Regions from separate parts of the Homo sapiens genome. Here regions 2, 3 and 4 are each linked to region 1. Evidence: promoter capture Hi-C in human tissues and cell types (Jung and others, 2019). All regions are on one chromosome and are shown on one strand. The core of a region is centred on a gene start or on the middle of the fragment in contact, and the rest is flanking DNA. Distances in the headings are between cores, read along the strand shown.

Region 1 (2,582 bases), core at 22-2,521:
AGCGCCTGGCCTCCTGTTCAGTCTTAAATGCTACTGTGCAGTCATTATATTTTCACTTGTATATTTTGTACTAAATGTATATGAGAGACCAAATGTATGTGGATGCAGAGAATGTTCTCCCGATAACCTTGTGATCTGTGGACTCAGACAGTGGTGTAGATCTGAACCTCACAGATGAAAGTCCTGATGGCTGACTTTGTCTTTGGTCAAAAGAGGAGGATGAAAAGTGAAAAATCACCCAGGAACTTGCAGTGGGAAGCTGACAGGCCAAGCTGAATCTTCCCTACCACACACAAACATCTCCTGCAAAATTTTTTTTTTTTTTGAGACGGGGTCTCGCTCTGTCACTCAGGCTGGAGTGCAGTGGTGCGATCTCGGCTCACTGCAACCTCTGCCTCCCGGCTTCAAGCGATTCTCCTGCTGCAGCCTCCTGAGTAACTGGAATTACAGGTGTGCACCACCACACTCCGGCTAATGTATTTGTATTTTTAGTAGAGACAGGGTTTCAGCATGTTGGTCAGGCTGGTCTTGAACTCCTGCCCTCCTGATCCGCCCACCTCAGCCTCCCAAAGTGCTGGGATTACAGGCATGAGCCACTGCACCCGGCCGAAGAATATTTTAAGCAGTCAAGTTTGCTCAGTGATTGTCATGCAACAAGATATAGAAAGTCTATTCTGTAACTATATTTGAAACCAGAGAGAGATAACATTCTGCAGTGAAGACCACATTAGTCTCTCAACTTCCTAGATAAATTTACCAGAATAATCATCAAATTGCACCATTTTAGAGAACTGGCTCCTACTCCTTAAACACGCCTTGGACTGCCCTAGTCAACTCCTACAATGGGCTCCCTATGACACTATCCTATCAAGTTTATTTTCCTCTATTGTTTGCTCTCCCTTGACGCAACACACCAAATAAACCAAGTCGTGTTGGAATACACTGTGTGGTCACTGGGTGGCTGCCGACACCTGTGCAAATCTAGGGAGCCCATTTGGAGCCTTCCTGCACCTCCATACCCTCAACCCCCTGCTCCAAAATTCTTTGAATTTAGAGTGAAGAAAAATTTCTGATTCCAGGACATCAGAAAGCCAAGCACTTATCAGATGATTAAGTTTGACTTGAAAGAATTAAGCTCAGAGCAGATAATTACTTGGAATGAATTATCTTGGGAAGACCTCCGGGGATTGGACATCCACCCTAAGGTGGATCAAGGGGCGGGTTGTTTGGATTCCAACAACCCTTATTAAGGACAACCCTTTTTAAGGACAGAGCCTAGGCCCTTCCTCGCTTTTCCAAGTCTTTTGCCAACCAGTTTGTTAGACTTTCCCCTATTCTGAATCAGGTGGGAGCACAGCATGGCCGTGGGAACGAGTGCTCTCAGCAAGGAGCCGTGGTGGACCCTGCCCGAAAACTTTCATTCTCCAATGGTGTTCCACATGGAAGAGGACCAGGAGGAGCTCATCTTCGGTGAGTGGCCTTTGCCCACGTCCCCTCCTTCATCTGTTTTTTATTTTTATTTTTTTGAGACAGATTCTCGCTCGTGATCTTGGCTCACTGCAACGTCTGCCTTTTGGGTTCAAGTGATTCTCCTGCTTCAGCCTGCAGAGTACCTGGGATTACAGGCGCCTGCCACCACGCCTAACTAGTTTTTGTACTTTTTTTTTTTTTTTTTTTGAGACTCGAGACGGAGTCTTGCTCTGCCGCCCAGGCTGGAGTGCAGTGGCGCGATCTCGGCTCACTGCAAGCTCTGCCTCCCGGGTTCACGCCATTCTCTCACCTCAGCCTCCAGAACAGCTGGGACTACAGGCGCCCGCCATCACGCCCGGCTAATTTTTTTTGTATTTTTAGTAGAGATGGGGTTTCACCGTGTTAGCCAGGATGGTCTCGATTTCCTCACCTCCTGATCTGCCGGCCTCGGCCTCCCAAACTGCTGGGAATACAAGTGTGAGCCACTGCGCCCGGCCTCGTGTTTTTTTTTTTTTTTTTTTTTTTGATATGGAATCTCTGTCGCCCAGGCTGGAGTGCAGTGGCGCGATCTCGGCTCACTGCAAGCTCCGCCTCCCGGGTTCACGCCATTCTCCTGCCGCAGCCTCCCGAGGAGCTGGGACTACAGGCGCCTGCCACCACGCCCGGCTAATTTTTTGTATTTTTAGTAGAGACGGGGTTTCACCATGTTAGCCAGGCGTGTGTGGAACTCCTGACCTCAACTGATCTACCTGCCTCGGCCTCCCAAATTGCTGGGATTACAGGCATGAGTCACTGCGCTAGGCCGGCCTCCTTCATCCCCTTCTCGATTTTCAATCTTCCCCTCTCCTCCCACCTTCATGAGTCACACATCCCTACCCTCAAGGCCACCTCCTCACTCCCCAAGGACTGGTGGCTGACAGTTTCTCTTCTCACTTCTTGTGCTTACAGGACTTGATGACACGTACCTTCGCTGCATTGAGCTGCACAGCCACACCCTTATTCAGCTGGAGAGGTGTTTCACAGCTACAGGCCAGACACGTGTGACTGTAGTCGGACCACCAATGGCAAAGCAGTGGCTGCTGCTCATGTTCCATTGCGTGGGGAGCCAGGAC
Region 2 (2,582 bases), core at 38-2,537, 940 kb after region 1:
GGCGTATAGCACGCACCTGTAATCCAGCTACTCAGGAGGCTGAGGCAGGAGAATCACTTGAACCCAGGAGGCAGAGGCTGCAGTGAGCCAACATCGTGTGACCACACTCCAGCCTGGGTGACAGAGCAAGACTCCATCTCCAAAAAAAAAAAAAAAAGTTTGCAGAGCAAAAGTTTAATTCAAACTTATGTATGCCTGACCCTAAGTTTACCATCTTCAAGTATGTATCTAAACATTTACCACTAAGTTCAATCCATGCCTACTCTCCTTCATCTAAGACTAGAGTTTTGATTTACACTTAAGTAAAACATACTTCTCAATAAAAATTTGCGTCTTTAGTCAGACATTTTTGTTGCTGCAAATGGACTTGCAGTAAATTGCTTCTACCAAAGCCTAAAAACAATGTAGTTCTGTTGTTTTTGTTTTTAAACAACTTGTTAAAGAATGGACATGTATGTGGTATTTAAGGTCAAATTTTCAAAGTGGTTCCTACTGTGCTGGTCCGTTACAGGCCTGCACAGGCTCTTTTGCAATAACACACCATAAAATGCATATGTAAGCAATTCTAAATAGTAGTCCAAATAAAGAAATAAAGCATCCCCAAGTTAGAATGTAGAGTGTAGTTTCTACAGGAAGAAAAGTCACTAGAATGGAATGCAGAAATGATGGGCAGCAGTTCTCAAGGGTGAATTCACATGAAGATGAAAAGCTAGACTTTTATCTTATCAAGAAGCTTCCAAAGAAAATATGATACATTTCTTTAAGTGGCTTGACACAAAAAATATAAATCAGTTCTACTTGTCTCCTAATGACAACTGGTCATCATCTCTTTCAAAATATATTCTTAAAAGGCTATCTGTCATGAGGTTACATTTGTTGAGGGCAATAAAAGGCCTTTAAAATTATGATCATTAAACAGCAAATTTCGCCAGAAACCAGTGCAAAACTGTGTAGTATGACTCCTTTTGGGAAGTTATCAACTCTCAAAGGCCAGGAGTCAGTGTCCAAAGCATTTATACTGTGTCTTCGGTTCACGTGTAGCTAGATGTAAATTCAAGGTATCTTCTTAACAGCTCTTATTCAGAGCTAACATAAATTAGAAAACCCAGGCCAGTTCTTCTTTTGTAACCTGCTATTCAACAATTCACAAAGAAACTAGGCATGTAGTTTACACTCTAATAAAAATCAATGAAAAGCTTTAATTATAATCAAACACATCTAAAAGGTTACAGCTTTCTACTTTAAACTATAAGCAAAGGAAAGGCAAGAGTACTATGAATATGATTCATAAGTGTCATATATTTGAAAATGAAAGTCAATCAAATCCTTGCTATTCTGATTGGAGGATTTGTGTTTATCCACAGATTACATTTCAGAGTTGCAAAGGCAGATGCCTCAATATCATTAATCTGGAGTTAAGCACCTCCAGCTGACACTGGCATCATCTATCATTTTCTAAAATAGTATCTTATTGCCAAAAAAACTTGTTCACTGATGTATCCTTAATATATAACTACACACAGTAGTCACTCAACTAGCAATTTTTTTTTTTTTTTGAGATGGAGTTTTGCTCTTCTTGCCCAGGCTGGAGTGCAATGGCGCAATCTCGGCTCACCGCAACCTCCACCTCCTAGGTTCAAGCAATTCTCCTGCCTCAGCCTCCCGAGTAGCTGGGATTACAGGCATGTGCCACCAGGCCCAGCTACTTTTGTATTTTTAGTAGAGATGGGGTTTCTCCATGTTGGTCAGGTTAGTCTCAAACTCCCGACCTCAGATGATCTGCCCGCCTTGGCCTCCCAAAGTGCTGGTATTACAGGTGTGAGCCACCATGACCAGACTCAACTAGTATTTTTAAAAAATGAATGAAAGAATACTGAATAGAATTAAAAGAATACAACTTCAAGGAAAAGGTTTAATCATGTCAAAATAATTGAAATTGTGTAGAGGGGGCTGAAAATGATGGTTGAAGATTGAAAATTTATCTAAGAAATTATAGTTATTTACAATGATGGTAAAGAAACTGCAGTTAACTGAGCTGGGATTAAAGAATGTGAAAATACAAACATTGTTTCATCAAAGGCTATCTATCTATCGATTGATCAATTTCCTTCCTCAAAGTCCAACTCTTTGTACTACTCAACACTTTTCATGAGTCCCCTGTATCCTTATTCCATTGTGAATCAAGTTCCCTAAATAGTCAATTTCTCCATGGACCACTGTCCAGAAATAAATTTCATCTCCCTTTTACATACCACATCCCTTGATATGTCTCACACCTACTCATTTTTCAGATCTCAACTCAGTGTTAACATCCTCTGGAAAGCTTTTCTTTTTTGCTACTTGCTATTTTATTACTTGAACTTAGCACATAGTTGGTATATATCTGTTAACTGAATGAATCACTGAATTGTACAAATTCTATCTCTACTAGGCCTATTGAGATAGCCTGGCTGATGCCTTGCATCTACCCCTAGATCCTTTGATCTACCTTCCAAAAATCAGTCAAAGTGATCTATAATTTTGGAACTCAAAACTGATCCTCTGCCTCCCATGTTTAAAGCACATCTGTGGCTCACAGATCA
Region 3 (2,582 bases), core at 25-2,524, 830 kb after region 1:
TGCTGGGATTACAGGCGTGAGCCACAGCGCCCGGCAAGAATCTGATTTTTGATAGTTTTTTTGTAAAATTATTTTTCCTCTTAGGAAGCTTGCATGATTTTCTATCAAGCCTCAGTATTGTGAAATTCCACTATGTTGTGTCTTCAAGCTGATCTATTTTCATGCATTTTGCTGAAGTTCTTTCCCACTGCAAGATTACAGACAGATTAACTTAAGTGTTCTCCAGTACTTTTTAGTGTTTTTCTCCACCTTCCCTTTTCTTTTTTATAGTTGAGTCTAAAATACTAACTTTTTTGGTAAGTTGTGTAGGCGTGAGGGAATTCCATTAATTTTTTCACACAGGTAAATAGTTATGTTACTATACTTTACTGAACAGTCTTTTTTTTTTTTTTTCCATGCTGTGAAATGCCACCCATGTCCTACATTTACATCTATTATATCAGGGTTTCTGGTAATTCAAATATTTATAGCTAATTTTACTTCTTTTTTCATAACATCTCAAATTAGAAAAATGCACTTGAAATTAGAATAGTTGTTTGCAAACAGTAACTCTGTAGCTAAAATGTTGCTTCTCACTTGTATTGCTATTACACAATTTTAAATATTTTAAATGACTTTGTCAAACACAAAACATCAATTTTCTTGTAGAAAAAAAAAATGATTCTTACCCATTGCAGGGGTGGCAAGGGTTTGGCGGCCAACAAGCTGGGCTGGTCCCAATCCATCAAGAAAATCACTGAATTGACTGTCAGCTCCCAGTCGCACTCCAGGAAATATTAAACTATCAGCAAAAGGATAAAAACCAAAGGAAAAAACCCATGAAATCTTCTAGAATTCTTTTCACTAGTTTCCACTTGACTAATTATGATCATGAAACATAAATATTACTTAGACAATCTGTTTTTTTAATTGATTCTTTGCATTGCCTTTGAGCCAAGCATATGAGGCTTAACATTGACTGAGGAAAGGTGTAAACTCTCAATTTAACACCTAATGCTCTATTCAAGAGGGCTCAGTTATAGTTTTTAATATACCAAGTTCCAAATCCTTATATAAATGTGTTGCTGACAAAAAAACATAAGATGCGAATTTTTATATCATAAACTTCACACAGATACTTGCTCATGAACATTAGGTAACATTCATGCTAAATTTTTAAAGTGGCCAATAATTTCTTGAATAAATGTTATAACATAGTTCAAGTTCTTATTTATAAACATTTAATTGATTCAAAGATGAATTATTTGAGACTTTTATTTGGTTCCAATGGAAATTAATTGGTTAAAAAATCTGTATTTCTTCCTATAATACAACTTCCTGATAGCCCCAGGATGTAAGCTGCACAAGGGCAGTGCCTGTTCTCTTCTTGTTGACTGATGTAGTTATCACTGGGTAATGACAACTATGCTCATTATGTGATAGGCATTCAATAAGCATTTTTTGAATGAGCATATTTCTATAGAGACTTACTCTTTCCATTGTGCTTTCACATCTATTATTTCTTTTAACCAAGGAAATTAAATGGGACACAGATTATAATCCCATCCAGAGACCATGAAAATAAATCCAAGAGATTAAATGGTTTATGATGGAGGCAAATTTTATTTGTTACTTTTTTATATCAGAAAATGATGTGTTCAAGTCTCATTTGTATATTACTTTATGCTACTTCATCAAATATGGGTATTTTGTCAGTAAGTTTATCTCTGTAACTTTCATACCTGCTGATTTTTGTTCTTATATTCCTTACTGGAAACATGCATAACAAGCCAATCATTTGACCAACTAAACAGAGACCAACTAGTTTCAGGAATGGGAAGGAATATCACAAACAGTAACTTGGCATAATTCTGTTAAATTTTCTAAACAATATAGAAAAATTCCAGTAAAGACAAGAAATTAGAAATATCAAATTGGTATATGAGTAATGTGAATGGTAATGAACAAATAATTATGGAAAATTTATATGTGGTGAATCTCCATGTAATCCAAAACAACACATTAATTACTTATTTGTAAGATCCACTACCTCAATAAAAATTCAATTTTACCAGAAATATTCTCAAGCATAGGAAGAAGCAGGTTTTGTGCAGGATCCATATGAAATGGTAAAAAAAAAAAAAAAAGAAAAAGAATCGAAAAGAGTAAATTTTTAAAAATCGTATTCTATTTTTTCAGAATTAACTAAAACATTTTAGTCAGAAAAATAATGAAGCTGATAGACCCTGGATTATTTCCTAAGGTAAAAATGAGTCAGCAATGTTTTAAAAACAAGAAAATGTAACTTACATATATGACAGTGTTAGACTTAGAAAAGCTTAGGGTCCAAAATAGCTTGGAGAAAATTAAGAAAATGGGAAATCAGTTCCTTACTTATAAATTTTAACTTGGACTTTGGTGACAGGGACAGACTATGAGTTTCCCATATGAAAGAGTCCATTACCTGTGGCATTTGTACACTAAACATCCAGTAAGGAACTAGTCTGGGCTTTCCTAGATGCAAGAAATCAATTTGTTCATGTGGACTCAGAATTTCTTCACCCTTTGAAAGGTATGAATGACCAGGTGTAGAGGTGTGTCCA
Region 4 (2,582 bases), core at 83-2,582, 620 kb after region 1:
TCTCCTACATGCTTTTCTGAAGAACTGCATTTAATCCTGCCACAACTATATGACATGGGCATTACTACTCTCCCCATTTTTAAGATGTGGAGATAAGCTCAGAAACATTAAGAGATTGCTCAGTATCACACAAGCAGTAACCAAAAAGTGGGGATATGAACAGGATATGAAAAATCGCTGACTCCAGAAACTGTGATCTTAACCACAAAACCATATATCTCTCCAAATTAGAAAATGCTTTTAGGAATAGAGGGTTGTCTATTTAGAAATTTTATTAACAGCCACATATAAGAGAAGAAGATATATCTGCAAAGGCCCATAAACACTGATCATTCTGGCTTCAAACACAGGAGAGAAGAACAGAGTCACTTCCCTAACTGAACCTGGTATTTCTAGGTGTACAGATACCCCTTTCCTGGAGATTCTGAATCCTAACATTACAATTGTATCTTAAGAATGTGGGCCGGGTGCGGTGGCTCACGCCTGTAATCCCAGCACTTTGGGAGGCCAAGGCGGGCGGATCACGAGGTCAGGAGATCGAGACCATCCTGGCTAACACTGTGAAAGCCCGTCTCTACTAAATAGAGAAAAGAATTAACCGGGCGTAGTGGTGGGCGCCTGTAGTCCTGGCTACTCGGAAGGCTGAGGCAGGAGAATGGCGTGAACCCGGGAGGCGGAGCTTGCAGTGAGCCGAGATTGCGCCACTGCACTCCAGCCTGGGAGACAGCGAGACTCCGTCTCAAAAAAAAAAAAAAAAAAAAAAAAAGAATGTGTTCAGCTGCTAATAGAGACCCCCTCCCCAAAACACTGGTTTAAGTAAGGCCTATTTGTTTCAAGCAGAGAAGACTTGAGTCAAGAGTCAGGCAGGCAAGCCTCCACAAGGACGTAAGGCCTAACTTTTTCCATTTGCCACTTTCACCTGCTTAGCATGTGTCATTCATCCTTACGGTCACAACAGTGGCAGCTATGTTTCCAAACATTATGTATGAAATTCCAGGTGAGAATAAGGGAAAAGCTCAAGGGAAAAATGGACTTTGCTTGTTATTCAGAAAGGGTGTCCTCCTGATGAATCTCTACCTGCAGCTTATTGGCCAGAACCATCTCATGACCAACCACAACTGCAAGTAAGGTAAGGAAAGTGAACTATTTTAGTTGAATATATTGGAAATAATTGAGAACCATGTAAACAAATGGGGAACAGACAGACAACCAGCAACGTCTACCATAGGCCACCTCCTTGATTACCCAAGTGACATACCTTAAATTCACAGATACAGAAGGTTGAATGTAAAAGGATAGAAAAAGACATGGTCATGCCAGTATCAGACAACATAGATTTTAAGGCTGAAAGCATTACTAGAGATTAAAGAGGCATTTCATAATGATAGAAGTTTCAACTCACCAGGATAATACAGCAATTCTAAATTTGTATGGATGAAATAATATGGGTTCAAAATATATAAAGCATACACTGGACTACAAGAAGGATTTGACAAATTAACAATTACAGTGGAAGACTTAACATATCTTTCTTAGAAATAGAACAGTTGCTAATCATTAAGGTTTTCATCTCTTTCTTGTAGCAATTTCCTGAAAACAGAAAGTTAAGTCTACTACACACAAATATTCTGAAAATTTGGTAGCATTTGCTCTAACATTCCAACCTCAGCTGGCACATTGTCTATACCCCAGATCTAGCATGCAACTACCTGCCTATAGTGTCTATCAAGAGTCACTGGCTTCCCAGGCTGTAAATGACTGGGCCCTTTTTTCCTTGTAGTGCTCCTGGCATTGACTTTCGTTTTGGTTTTGGTTCTCAGATGAGAACAACAGTAGCTGGCTCTGATTAATTAAATTAAAAGGAGTTTATTTGGAGAGTATTGAGTTGCACACATTATTGAGGCAAGGGTTAGAGAACCAGGCCCAAAGCTAAGCATTTAGGAACAATGTACCAAACCATGCAAAAGTGGTCTGATAATATTGATGCCACAGTGAACATCCTATTTGCTGGAACTTTTCTTTATTGTACTGCAATTTCCAACAGCATGATATCTCCTTTAGCTAGTAGTTGGTCTTAAAACCAATACTGCTCCATAAAGCCAACCAAATGGAAGCTGAGTTTTTGCTACCTCCTAAGTTACTCATTTCCAATTCAAAGTCTTAAGTGGGACCATTCTATTTTTCCTGCCTTTATCTTGGTGCTCTGGCACTGTTAGAGCCTGGAATTACTCAAACAAAGCAAGAACACTCAAAAGCAACTGACAAGTCGGAAAACATGACCAATGTCCCCTACACATAGAAATATTCCTTATGCTTGTCCCCTTGAAAGAGTTCAAGTTCCACAGATTGTGATTTCGAGGTGTAAGGACAGAATCATATTCAATGTCATCAGTCTGTTGGAATTGTGACCACAAAGTTAGCATTTATATAAAAATTAATACACAGATTTAAAAATTACACCTTTTATTTCTGGGGCAATTACTTTTGGGCAATGTCAGAGTATGATTTGTTGCAAGCAACAAATAAGCAAGCAATCAACTACACAAGCCTCAAACAAATAAAAAGATTTAACAGGGAATTTG

The links. The method cuts DNA at HindIII sites, captures the fragments that hold promoters and counts their contacts. A contact is called where the count stands out against the background at its distance.
Region 2: a fragment that was not itself captured here is called in contact with the fragment with the promoter of KHDC1L in region 1 in 2 of the 25 tissues and cell types used here (IMR-90 fibroblasts and lymphoblastoid cells).
Region 3: a contact is called between a fragment that was not itself captured here and the fragment with the promoter of KHDC1L in region 1, in 1 of the 25 tissues and cell types used here (dorsolateral prefrontal cortex).
Region 4: a contact is called between a fragment that was not itself captured here and the fragment with the promoter of KHDC1L in region 1, in 2 of the 25 tissues and cell types used here (dorsolateral prefrontal cortex and spleen).

The regions. Positions count from the first base shown.
Region 1 is chr6:73,224,185-73,226,766 of GRCh38, reverse strand. KHDC1L (KH domain containing 1 like) reads left to right here and starts at 1,271. Exons shown (of 3, transcript NM_001126063.3): 1 at 1,271-1,470; 2 at 2,419-2,582. The coding sequence starts at 1,359. It overlaps LOC122539213 (KHDC1-KHDC1L), which reads left to right. Exons shown (of 7, transcript NR_173146.1): 5 at 1,346-1,470; 6 at 2,419-2,582. RefSeq lists enhancers at 2,187-2,481, 1,716-2,582. The HindIII fragment of the contact is 18,776 bases long and covers 1-2,582 here.
Region 2 is chr6:72,285,172-72,287,753 of GRCh38, reverse strand. The region is part of intron 24 of RIMS1 (regulating synaptic membrane exocytosis 1); the gene reads right to left. Among named protein-coding and RNA genes, the nearest start is that of KCNQ5, 340 kb to the left of the region's middle. The HindIII fragment of the contact is 4,356 bases long and covers 1-2,582 here.
Region 3 is chr6:72,390,897-72,393,478 of GRCh38, reverse strand. It overlaps RIMS1 (regulating synaptic membrane exocytosis 1), which reads right to left. Exons shown (of 34, transcript NM_014989.7): 31 at 669-781. Among named protein-coding and RNA genes, the nearest start is that of KCNQ5, 230 kb to the left of the region's middle. RefSeq lists a silencer at 2,565-2,582. The HindIII fragment of the contact is 4,037 bases long and covers 1-2,582 here.
Region 4 is chr6:72,605,527-72,608,108 of GRCh38, reverse strand. No RefSeq gene overlaps it. Among named protein-coding and RNA genes, the nearest start is that of KCNQ5, 15 kb to the left of the region's middle. The HindIII fragment of the contact is 6,628 bases long and covers 1-2,582 here.